Linked DNA regions of Homo sapiens: region 1 is linked to region 2. The links are contacts of gene promoters, found by promoter capture Hi-C in blood cells and fetal thymus (Javierre and others, 2016). All regions are on one chromosome and are shown on one strand. The core of a region is centred on a gene start or on the middle of the fragment in contact, and the rest is flanking DNA. Distances in the headings are between cores, read along the strand shown. Region 1 holds the start of XKR7 (XK related 7). Region 2 holds the start of MYLK2 (myosin light chain kinase 2).

Region 1 (6,527 bases), core at 3,032-5,531, 150 kb after region 2:
GTTGTGGGAGAGAAAGAAAAATCAGAGATATTCCTTTCTAAATTACACTGGGATTCAGACCTTCCAGCCCGACCCACAAACACCCTTGCTCACTAAACATGCCTGTCAATAGGCAACTGTCAGCCTTGAATCCATCCTGGAAAACTCCCTTAATCCCTAACTCTTTCCCCTCTGTTTTCAGCCTTGGGCAACAGCTGGTACCCCAACCTCCTAAGCATGCTGAGACCAAAACAGTCCCTGGGCATGAAAAGGATGCCAGGCTGCAGGACTGCAGTTGGCTTCTCCTTCCTGACCCAGGGCAGCTCTCTCCTTTCATCCTCTCTTCCCTGCCACTCTGAGGCAGGTTGGTTCTCCCACTTCCCTTCCTCAGCTCCTCTTTCTTCAACCCCTACCCTTTGCCCCTCCTCTCTCCCTCCCCTTGAAGGGTAGCAAAGCCTATTCTGGAGCCAGATGATGGGCATGAATTTGGCTGTAGCTACTAATTGTGTCACCCTGAACAAATTAATTTCTCTGTGACTTAGTTTCTGCATCTGTAAAATGGGAGGAAAAAAGGAGCTACCTCACAAATTGTGAGGGTAGAATGAGTTAGTAATTGTAGTGTTTTGGACAGTGCCAGGCAAAGAGACACTACTATATGGATGTTTGTATAATAAATGCCTGGATACATCCAATCTGATCAAAGGCAGAGATGGGAAATGAGCTTGGGGTATCCAGGATGTGTGGGAACTCCACCCCCTCTCATAGGTTACTGCTATAATCTCCTTCTGGTCTCACCAGCCCCAGGCTGCTTCCTTGTGATCGCTTCTCTACTCTGGCTGCTGGGTCTTCTTTCTAAATCCTGATGTGACCACATAACTCCCCTGCTCAAATACTGCAGTGGTTCCCCATTGCCTGCTGGATAAAGGCCACCTTCTGGCCCCTTAGGATCTCATCCTCAGAACTCTGCAGCCCTATCTTCCCCATCTTTCTCCTCCCCTGGATCTGAGATCCAGACTTGCTTGAAGATATGCCCTCCAGTCTCAGGCCTCCAGGCCTTTGCACTTGCTCTTTCCTCCACCCGGTGTTTCCTCCCATCCCTTTCCTCTTGATGTTGGATGTTGTCCCCTTCCCTCCCCCTACTCTACTAGGGCTGTAGCCAGATGAAGGCAGTCCCCGAGAGAGGGAAAGCGGAGAGTAAGGAAGAGACAGCAACTCAGAGCTGCAGCTTTCTCAGCTTCAAAACGAAGACAATAAGAAAAGGGGACCCCTCAAGATCAAAGGAGGGGATGGAACAATATGTGAGCACTCAGGAAACTGGAAATGAGCGTTAGCATGGAGTGACTGCTAAAGGGTTACTGGGGGGCCCGCCCAAGTCCCCCAGCTCCTTTCTTCCAAGTCCCCCACCCACCCCCCCGTCAGACCCAGGCCACTGGAGGTGAACACAGGAGAAAAACGAAGTGGAGAGAATGGGAAGGGGGAGGCGATAAACAAAAAAGAAGGAAGTGCAGTCCGAGGGGAGATGAGAGACAGAAAGCATGGGGTTGGAGCCCCGCGCCTCCGAGGAAGGAGGGAGAGGGTGACCTGGGGTGCGCCCCGCCTCCCCTGCTTCCGCATTCCCGGGGGCTGCCCCCCCTTCGGCCGCAGCTCAGGCGGGTGGGGGCGGGGCGGGGCGGCGCCGAGGAGAATGAATAATTGAAGTGGAGGGGAGGAGGAAGAAGAGGAGAAGGAGGAAGAGGAGCCGCCCGCGCAGGGTCCTCCCCACGCCGCACCCCCCTCCGCCGCCCGGAAGTCGCTCCCCGCCTCCCTCTCCGCCAACATGGCCGCGAAGTCGGATGGAGCGGCGGCCTCGGCCAGCCCGGACCCGGAGGGGGCTGCCGGTGGAGCCCGGGGCAGTGCCGGCGGGCGCGGGGAGGCGGCGGCGGCGGCCGGGCCCCCGGGGGTCGTCGGGGCGGGCGGCCCGGGGCCGCGCTACGAGCTGCGGGACTGCTGCTGGGTGCTGTGCGCGCTGCTCGTGTTCTTCTCCGACGGTGCCACGGACCTGTGGCTGGCGGCCTCCTACTACCTGCAGAATCAACACACCTACTTCAGCCTCACCTTGCTGTTCGTGCTCCTGCCCTCGCTGGTCGTGCAGTTACTGAGCTTCCGCTGGTTCGTCTACGACTACTCGGAGCCCGCAGGGTCCCCGGGACCCGCCGTCAGCACCAAGGACAGCGTAGCCGGCGGAGCCGCCATCAGCACCAAGGACAGCGCCGGCGCCTTCCGGACCAAAGAAGGCAGCCCCGAGCCGGGTCCCCAGCCTGCGCCCTCCTCGGCCAGCGCCTACCGCCGCCGCTGCTGCCGCCTCTGCATCTGGCTGCTGCAGACCCTCGTCCACCTCCTGCAGCTCGGCCAGGTCTGGAGGTAGGAGAAGCGCAGGTGGAGGGACCTGAGCCCGAGGAGTGGGGGTGGCGAAGGGCTACCTGACGTCCCAGCCCTGATCTGACCTTTCCGGGCTACCCTCCTGTCCTGACCTCCCCCCCTCCCCACCCCATTGCAGCTCTAATTTCTTCTCAGTCGGCTTCTCCCTGACCTCTGCCCCCAAGCCCTGACCAACCCCAGTGCCATCCGGTCTGACCTGGCCTTCGAGAGGGGAGGGGATGGTTCAAGAAAGGAGAGAAAGAGATCCTCAGGGGTGTGCGTGAGTGGGGAGGACCCGGGGCTCATGAAGATAAATGTGAAGCTTAAAACAGGACCACAGGGCCCTATTCTGCCATAACCCACTCCTCTCTGCCTGAGTGCCAAGCCTGGGCTCAGGAAAGATCTCAGAAGTCCTTTCCTGCTCGCAAAGATCCTCAGTTCAGAATTGCAGCTCATTCACAACCTGCAAGGAGAGTCACAGAATTTGAGACAGCTAAATGAATATCCCGCCTAAACTTCTTGGACTTTTTGGAGAAAGATATGCTGGACCCAACTGGGGAGCCCTCAGGCTCCTTCTACTTCCTATGACCCCCTCTCCCCCAGCTAAGGGTCCTCCCCTTCCAACAGGGCCAAGGGGATTTGGAATCTTGAATCTGAGATTAGATGGCCACTGGCTGCCCTTTAATCCCGAACTGGTAAGGCAAAACTGAGGCTTTGTTCAAGCTGCCCACTTTCAGTCTTCTTCCTCTGCCAGAACTGAGGGTGCCTGCTGCACTGAGTTAAGTGGAGAGAGGAGGAATTCTAAACCTAGGGCTCCTCTTGAATCTGAATTGCTATTTAGTAGCTTAGGCCCTTCTGTGCTCTAACAGAATGAACTTGCTTACTATATGATCTTAGGCAAGCCGCCCTCCTCCTTCCAAGCCTCAGTTTCCTCTTCTGTGAAATGAGGGAGAATCCCTACTCCTCTTATCTCATTGTCTTATCATTGCATTATTCTTACCTGTTGGGATGGTCAGGTGAGAGGTCTGCATGAGGGCCCTGCAGACTGTAACATTTTAAGAGTGTGGGGAAAGCATGGAAAAAGTCACTCTAGAGATATAAAGGGTGATTACTGCTGTTGTTATATTTATTCTGCTACTTGTTAACACATTCTGCCTAACTCAGAAGATTCAGTTTGGGGCTGAGGGTTGAAAACAGGACTCCTAGGGTTTGTCCCAGCTGCTCACTTGCTGTGTCACTCTTGTTGTGTTGTCGAATCTCTCTGCCTTTGTTTCCCTATCTATTCCTGCCAAGATGATGTGTATATTCCACTTAGCTTATCCTGGAGGAAAAGGGGGCGGAGCTCTATCCACACAAGGTGGTGTTATTATTATTAGCGTGACACATAAAAATATTCATGTCTACATCCAGGAACTAATCTGCATTTATCATTCTGTGCCCGAGTGGACAGATGGTGAAAGATATTTTTAGATTCTGAAATGGTAACTTCCTATTCTTGGTAGGAAGCTTCATCCCCCTTTTCCTTCAGCCTAAAGTGGGCCAGATGCCCCTCGACTCACTGGCTATCCCCCCATTCAGAATCCACTTACAAGAAACTAATACTTCTCTTCTTTGTTAAGCATAAACTGAGTTTCCCTCAAATAGGGCAAAAATGGCCATGGGTGTGGGGTCCCAGGGGAGTAGCTAGAATTGCTAAGGATCCCCTCAGCTCTATGGTTTCTTGGATATGGATAAAAGGACTAGCTATTTCTACTATCTCCCATTTGCAAAATGAGGAGGCTGGGATGAGATAAGTTTGTAGGGATAACAATCTAATAGCTCTTAGGTTGAATGTGGCTTGTGGAAGTGTTTTGTGTGGCTTGCATAGTATTTTAAAAACCCAGAGTCGTAGCTTCCCTTTAAAAAAATTGGATCTAGCAGTATCAATCCTGTAACAATTTAGAAAGAGTCTATGTGCTCTAATTTGTCCATCTTTCCCTTTGATCATATCTGTACTATTTCACTTAGACATGAAAGCCCTAATTTACAGTTCTATAACAATTATTTTATTAAACACTGACTTTGTGCCAAGCCTACTGGTTGCCTTTTTACCTGCTTTATTTCCTGTACCCCTTCTAATCATCCTGTCATGTGGTTAGCATTATAATTTCTACTTGACAGATGAGGGAATGGAGGCTCAGAGAGGGGGCATCCTTGTCCAAGGTCACACAGCTAGGAACTTGAAGAGCTGAGACTCCAGGCTCTCTGCCTTTAAAGCCTGAGTTCAATTTATCCACCTTGTAATTCTGCCACTAAAGTGTCCCTCAAGCTTAAAGAAGTATGAATCTGAGATTCCAAGATTCCAGTATGATAGAAAGTCAGGGCTTCTGTTGCACTGAGATAAGAATGTGAAAAGAGGGGCAGGGAGTTGAACTATGTGGGTGAGGACGGGAACAGTGTGTATTGTGGGGAAAAGGCTGGATTCGGGGGTGGTCTGGTCAGGAGGCTGACATCTTTATCCTAGTTTGTAACTATAGTTTGCTGGGTGACCTTGGGCAAGGCTCTTTCCATCTTTGGGTCTCGGTTTCCCTGTGTGTGAAATGAGATTCAATGTGATGACCTTAAGAGTTTCCCATTCCTGAAATTCTGACTCTGGGTCTATTGCCAAAGCAAAAGCCTCTGGGCCCTTGCCCCCAAAATCTTTGGATTCTAAAATGGCTAAGGGCCTGGATAAATGGAGGGAAAACCCAGAGAAGGTATAGAGAAGCTGCAGGGGCTGGCATTCCTAGAAATTAAGCAATGTTGGCCCAGCACATTTGCTTACCACGTGAGATGTTCCCACAGATGTTCTGAGTGGTGGGGCCTGGGGTAATGAAGAGGGAGATGTGTGATTGAGTCCTCCAGAATCACACCTGGGAGGCTAGGCAGTCACTCACCTCCTGATCCCATTTCCTCAATTCTGAATAAAATAATTATAATCATGAAGATATTTTTCAACCTCTTAGACTTGTAAAATCCTGAATTAAAAATTCAAATGCTTTGAGGACCCAGGCAGGTAACAGACCATAAGACCATAAGATACAAGGGGTGTCAGACAAGAGGACATTCAGGGGCAAGTAGTGTCCGAGGAAAAGGGAAGCTCCAGCTGATCATGCCATGAGAAATCGTGGACCCAGTCTTGATTTCTCAAGAGAAATGGGAAATTGGGATTTTTCCGTGAACTCTCCAAAATTTAACTACTAATTAAAATGTTTAAAAATAGTGTCAACCAAAGGAAACATATTTATTAGCCTGTCTTCTTTGTAACCTCTGGTTTAGCTCTTCAAATTGATAAGGTCTTTTCACACAGAAGATTTTATTACTAATTTAAACATAAAATGAAGCTCTGAAGAGAGAGAGGAGGAGAAAGCATACACAGACACTGCACACCTACCGTGTCCCCACAGGCCCTGTGTGAGTGTTTCAGGCATGTGATCTCATGTTACTCTGAAACCCTCCCCCCTGGTGACTATTGATATACCCATTTATCAGATAAGGAACCTTGTCCAAAAGTCACCCACTGAGGAAGTGAGGAAAGGTGATCAGTCCCAAACCTAGCTCTATCTTTTACACCACACACTGGCTACTTTGGGACATGCCAGAACAATATCTTTGTGCACAGAGAGATTGAACTCTGAGGGAACAGCAAACAGATCCTCTGGCGGGGCACGAAGCTGGCTGTGGCCTGGACACCAACCTGCAACTTCATCCCTCCCTTCCCTTTAAACTCTCTGAGCTGTTAAACTGCCCAGGGTTCTTAAGCTAATTAAAGTCCTAACCCTGTCCCCTCTGACCCTGTAGGCAGCAGAGCAGTAAGCCATGAATCCTGCTTTTCCTAATCTTGAGCTCAGTGGGCCCCAGCTTCACCCAGATAAGCATGGTTTGCTAAGCCAATTAGTGGGAGACGATCTGACATGGGATTCCTGCCAGGCTTTCGGGATCTGGGAACCCCAAAATGGGGAGAAAATTAGGCAATTGGGATTTAGGGGCCCTCCCTCTAATGCCCTCTCTATGCATAGGCCCAGACACTGCACTCTATGTCACCTAAGAAGCCCTGCATGACAGAGAAGTTCTGGAATGAGTTAGTGACCTATTGGAAGGAAATGTCAGGCTCTGGATTTCCCCTCTGGGAA
Region 2 (6,225 bases), core at 908-3,407:
CAACCTTTTGAATGCTGCAAGATCCACAAAGGGGTTACTCAGCAGGGAGAAGGGGGCAAGGCACAGGCTGGGACATTTTAGGAAGGGAAGAGGGCTTTGGAGTTTGAAGAACGACATTCCAAGCTCAACTCCCTTCCTTGCTGAGTGACTTTGGGCAAGCTACTGATTCCTTTAACTCTCCTCGTCCTCATGCAGAAAATGAGATGAGCGCTCCCCACAGAGTTATCATCAAGATGATGCTTAAAGGCAAGATGGCTAAAACGAATGACAGGTGCTCAGCAAGTGGAAGCTCCCTTTCTGCAGGGGACCTGGGTTCAGAGCTCAGTTCAGCCCCTTCCAAGCTGTGACTTTGAGTAAATTACATAACCTCTCCATGCCTTGGTTTCCCCATCTCTCTAGTACCTACCGCACTGGGTTCTTCTGAAGACCATTTGGGTGGATCAACATGAGAGCATGCAGAGCGAGGCCAGGCACGTGGTCAGTACCGTATAGGCATCAGCTGTTACTTTTGCTTCCTGGAAGAGGCAGACTGTTAACTGGACCTTAAAGAAGAGAAATGGAGGAGAGGAGGACCGGGCCTGGAGAGGAGGGCCAGGCAGAGCAAAAGTAGTCAAGACTGGGGAAAGAGCTCCAACTATGGTTTTTACCAGCTTATACCAAAAACCCTTGACATTTGCTCACAAAACAAAACATCCCACTCATTTTGAATAGTAGCCTGTTCACATAGTTCATGGTTCAAACAGAAAAGTCAAAGTATATACAGTGATGTCTCCTTCCCACCCTTGGGGCCCAGTTCCTTGCTTATCCTACCAAATAAATTCTTATGTGCATAAAGTGAAATATATATTATTCATATATTATTCTCCCTTTTTTTTTTGCACAAATGGATAGCACACTCTACATGCTACTTTGCATCTTGCTTTTTTTATTCCCCCCACTTTGGTGGTCACTTTTTGTCAGTTCATTAACAGCTTCCTCAATCTTTTTTTACAGGTTCCTATTTCCCCACTGCTTAGAGGGGCTGCATTCTCCCTCCTTTCTCTCATCAAGCGTTTTTCCAATGGCTTCCCATTTGACAGAGGAGCCGAGGCCATGGAGTGAAGTGACTGGTTTGCTGCAGTCAGGACCTGAACCTGGATAACCACTCTACAGCTACTTCATTTTATCTTACTTTTTAAAATATAAAGACGGGGTCTTGTTATGTTGCCCAGGCCAGTCTCCAACTCCTGGCCTCGAGTGATCCTCCTGCCTCAGCTTCCCAAAGTGTTGGGATTACAGGTGTGAACCACTGCTTCTGGCCTCTACAGCTACTTCTAATGCACCCAGGTCTGGCCAGTTCTCAAGAGCCCCCTCTGAGAAAGGCTCTGGGTGATGGAAGGCTCCTTGGATCATAGCTGTCCTCATCCTATCTCGAACACCTCAGGCTAGAGTGCCCCTCGGGCCACCCCTGTAGTGGAGCATCCTTGAAAAGACTCTCTGCCAGCCCCCTTCTTCCATGTGGGTCATGGGTGAGAACTGGATGAGCTTGGGGGAGGGGCACAGAGCACTCTCCATCTCCCATGGCTACTCAGGGCAGCCTCCGTGTCCCCAGGAGCCCAAGAAAAGGACAGTTTCAAAAGAAAAAGCTTCCAGGCCTATGGACATGTTGAGAAAGTGCCCCCGAGACAATTTCTTACCCAAAGGTGACGCAAGCAGGTCCAGATGTCGAGGCACAGAGCTAGGCACTAGGGTCAGGGAGATTATCCCTGGGACTTTGTGGCTCTAGCCAGGTTCTGGGGAGCCCCAGGAGATGTGGCACACAGGTGGGCAGACCAGGGCTCAGCCTGGGCATACTCTTGCCCTTCAGGCCTGCCTGAGTACTCCCCTTCTTCCAGGCCCCCTCTGATCCTGTCCAAGTCAGGGATACTGAGCAAGGCCTGGGGAAAGGGCTGCTCCCCCAGCGTCCCAGATACCCCTCCCTTTTCTCGCTTGTTCCAACATCATTCTCCCCCCAGTCGGGCCATGGGAAGAATGCCGTGTCCTCTGAACTGGGGCCAAGAGTGACAGGTGGCGGCAGTCCCAGCTGCATGGCCCCTGGTGTAAGAGATCCTCTCCTCCGTCCCCGCCTCCACTGCCCACACCCCTGCCTCCGCCTCTGCCCACCCGGCCCAATCCCTTACAACTGCCCAGGACTGCTCCTGAGCAGCCGCTGGGAGACAGACGGCAACCAGGTTGCCCCTCTTTGCTCCAGGTACCTCTCTCCCCTCAGTTAGCAGGCCTCGGCTTCCTGTCTCACTGCAGCCAGACGAGAGGGGAAATTGGACAGCCTGACACACTCCACTCTTGTTTCTGCAGCTAGAAAGACTTGAGTTAGACAAGCAGCAGCACACGCCTCCCTACCTCATGGCGACAGAAAATGGAGCAGTTGAGCTGGGAATTCAGAACCCATCAACAGGTGCCAAGCTGGGGCAGGAGATGGAGGGAGGAGCTTGGGAAGGGGGGTTTTGAATCCAGGACTGGGCAGGTTCCTCAGTGGGAGTTCTGTGCCCCAGCCTTGTTTGCATGGTGCACGGGGGACCCAGAAATCAGAGGAATCTCTGGCTAGGGTTGGGCTGGGTCCAGGGCCTGTATGAAGCCCTTCCTGGAGAGACCAGGAAAATGTGAAGCCACCAGGGATGGCTGCTGGGGATGCACCTAAACAGTCAGGGCAAGGATGATGGGGGCCACCAAGGCCCACCCAAAGGGCTGGAAGCCTCCCACAGAGGCCCTCCAAGGTCGTGGCAGCTCATCTCTAGGGGCCATCAAGTGGCCCCAGAGACTCAGTGGGACAAGCATTTGCAAGTTGTTGCCTGGGTGGGAACCTGGGCCCAGAGCTGGTCTCTGCCCAGCCTGGGTGAGAGGGAAGGAAAGGAGGGTGGATCCTGATGGGTGTCTCACCTCCTCTGCAGACAAGGCACCTAAAGGTCCCACAGGTGAAAGACCCCTGGCTGCAGGGAAAGACCCTGGCCCCCCAGACCCAAAGAAAGCTCCGGATCCACCCACCCTGAAGAAAGATGCCAAAGCCCCTGCCTCAGAGAAAGGGGATGGTACCCTGGCCCAACCCTCAACTAGCAGCCAAGGCCCCAAAGGAGAGGGTGACAGGGGCGGGGGGCCCGCGGAGGGCAGTGCTGGGCCCCCGGCAGCCCTGCCCCAGCAGACTGCGACACCTGAGACCAGCGTCAAGAAGCCCAAGGCTGAGCAGGGAGCCTCAGGCAGCCAGGATCCTGGAAAGCCCAGGGTGGGCAAGAAGGCAGCAGAGGGCCAAGCAGCAGCCAGGAGGGGCTCACCTGCCTTTCTGCATAGCCCCAGCTGTCCTGCCATCATCTCCAGGTGAATATCCCCTCCTGGGAGTGGGGAGGGGTCCTGTGGTTCTGTCCCTAGGGGTCCTGCTTAATTCCCTTGTCTTAGGCATGGTTATCATCACATTCAGTGCTGGGGAGTGTAGTTCTGACATTCAGTTTCCTCTGTCCTGTGAATTGCCTCTACCGCCTTGTCCCCTGCAGAAACCAGAACCCTGCCACAATTCATACAAGACTGGAGTAAGAGAGACCCTCAAAGACTGCCTAGGTTGAACATATCTTCTCTAGGCTTCTGGGGTCCGAAGTTCCCCTTACTCCATGGGCTTGGGTCTAGCCAAGGGCAGGGTTGAGATGGCAGGCAGAAAGGCTAAAGGTGTCAGGCAAAAGGCTGTGTATTTCCTAGGACATCCAGTATTTTCCTGTTCTTCTTAATATAATTATTGGTAAGATATGAAAAGATGACTAATAACCAGATTGGAGGATCATTGATAATATTTTCATAACCATAATATAGCACATGTGTGATGCCATCAGTTATACTTACCTGAATGCTAATGAGGTCATTAATGATATATTGTAAGCCACAATAAGAACATTTACCATATCACTTTGATAATTATGTATCAATTATATCACAACAGATTTTATGAATCAAGAGCTACATAACTCCCTAGTTGTATCCACATGATGATTAACCATATCAACAATCCTATTAATAGTTATTAATGATGTATTAGTGTGTTGGTAGTCAAGATAATGACCACAGCCATGAACATCCCTTAATTTTGTACCAGGTGAATTTGGCTGTATTACACCATGCATTTGGGGTGGGGTTGGATTAGCTCTGCAGATTGCATTGAGACTTGCCTGATGCCACAGGCTGTGGCCGCTGAGGGCTTCACCTCTGTGTTCTCACCTTCTAGTTCTGAGAAGCTGCTGGCCAAGAAGCCCCCAAGCGAGGCATCAGAGCTCACCTTTGAAGGGGTGCCCATGACCCACAGCCCCACGGATCCCAGGCCAGCCAAGGCAGAAGAAGGAAAGAACATCCTGGCAGAGAGCCAGAAGGAAGTGGGAGAGAAAACCCCAGGCCAGGCTGGCCAGGCTAAGATGCAAGGGGACACCTCGAGGGGGATTGAGTTCCAGGCTGTTCCCTCAGAGAAATCCGAGGTGGGGCAGGCCCTCTGTCTCACAGCCAGGGAGGAGGACTGCTTCCAGATTTTGGGTAGGCCAGGGGCAGGTGGGGGCTGGGGCTGCCCTGGGGCCAGGGGGAGGGAAGGGGGCTGTCAGTCCCAAGTCTACCTATTCGGAGGTCTGAACTGCCCTGAGCCAAGCCTTACCCAGGCCCATTCATCTAAGGGTCACACAACTCCAGAAAGTATTCCTTTTTTAACGTATGTTTATTCATTTGTTTATTTGTTTTAAAAGATAGGGTCTTGCTACGTTGCCCAGGCTGGCTTCAAACTCCCAGCCTCAAGTGATCCTCCCACCTTGGCCTCCCGAGTAGCTGGGACTACAGGCGTGTACAACCATACCTGGCTTTCTTCAATCTTATTTTTTAAGATGTATTTTTATTTTTAAATTTAGTATTCCCTTTTGATAGATGGGGAAAGGAAGGCTCAGAAAAAGGAAAATGAAGTGCCCAAACATATCCAGTGAAGACAGGATTTGAACCTGTCAGGCCACCCAGACTCCAGAACCCACTTTTGAGTTTTTTCTACTTTGACTAAAATGAAGTTAAAAAAAAGAAAAATCAGGCAGATTATTGGAGCAACACAAACTCCCTGGGCAATGGAATTTGGAGTCAATCTGTAGAAGGGCTCAAATGCCAGGCTTAGTAGCTAAACTGTATAGTGGGGTGGGGTCGTGGGAGCTATAGAGGGCTCATGCGCTGAGGAGCACAGGTGCCTGTGTGTGGGAGCAGTGACCAAGGAAGCTGGGCATGTGCAATGGGGCAGGACTGTGGAGTGGCCTTCATTGATGATTAGACAAGCAGCCCGTGGCTTGTTCATGGGCTGCAGAGAGCACTGAGTGTGAGTGAGCTTGGCCAGCAGGTGAATAGGGAAAGGGCCTGGGCAGGGGTGCGGCAGGGCTGGGGGTGGGGTGAGATGGGGTCAGGAGAACCCAGAGTGTCCTGACACCCCCCTGCCTCCAGGCTGAAGTGCCCTGGGAGACCCGCCAGCCTGCCTGGTGAGCGGCACCGTGCCACCCAGACAGGGTGGGAGGACCTGGCGGCTGGGCGGCAGCCAGGAGCCCTGCCTCCGCCCCTAGCAGCCGCAGAGACCTCCGCCCCGCCCCGAAATCGCATCCTAGAGTGACAGGATCTGAACCACCTCCAAAGGCCGTTTGATTTATCACCAGCCCGGCTTCCCTGCCGCCTCTTGCTATTTATAAAGAGGTTTCCATTCCTGATGACCGCCTGCCGGCCTGCCAGCCTTCAGGGCGAGCGGTTCCCCACACTTGCCGCTAGGTGGCGCCCTCTCCCCACCAAACAGCACGGTCCCCGGTCCCGCCCCGCCATGGGTGGTCTGGCCAGATTGCGGTGTTATTAGGATGGAGGGTGGGCAGGTCCCACCACCTACCCCATTATTCAGACATAGCAACCCCACTGCCTGGCATTCCGCTTTATAGCTGCTGTGTTTGATTGTTTTTGGTGGAAATGCAGATAGCTTGGGATGGAGTCCTTGTGTCTTATAATGCAGAGGGTCCAAAAAGTCCAAGCTCCCATCCCGTTTGTTCTGCCAGGAGAAGCTGGTCCTCCCTGATAGGAGTGTTGTGTTGGTGGCAGAACTGATATTGGAAACTGGGCCCCATAGCCCCTATCCTGGAGCCAGGTGTCCCCCAGGTATCACTTGGTGAACTTAACTTCCCTAGATGGGGCCCAGGCCAGCAGGAGGGGTGGTGCCAAGGG

Evidence for each region. Contacts are between HindIII fragments. The CHiCAGO score rates a contact against its expected background, and 5 or more counts as called.
Region 1: a fragment that was not itself captured here is called in contact with the fragment with the promoter of MYLK2 in region 2 in 1 of 17 cell types (megakaryocytes); the score reaches 6.6 in megakaryocytes.

The regions. Positions count from the first base shown.
Region 1 is chr20:31,966,381-31,972,907 of GRCh38, forward strand. It overlaps XKR7 (XK related 7), which reads left to right and starts at 1,771. Exons shown (of 3, transcript NM_001011718.2): 1 at 1,771-2,379. The coding sequence starts at 1,796. RefSeq lists silencers at 2,044-2,221, 5,786-6,080 and enhancers at 5,696-6,197, 6,198-6,527. The HindIII fragment of the contact is 802 bases long and covers 3,881-4,682 here.
Region 2 is chr20:31,817,199-31,823,423 of GRCh38, forward strand. It overlaps MYLK2 (myosin light chain kinase 2), which reads left to right and starts at 2,158. Exons shown (of 13, transcript NM_033118.4): 1 at 2,158-2,230; 2 at 2,335-2,434; 3 at 2,928-3,348; 4 at 4,241-4,539. The coding sequence starts at 2,383. RefSeq lists enhancers at 2,642-3,183, 5,513-5,572, 6,040-6,225 and a silencer at 5,873-5,922. The HindIII fragment of the contact is 6,141 bases long and covers 1,624-6,225 here.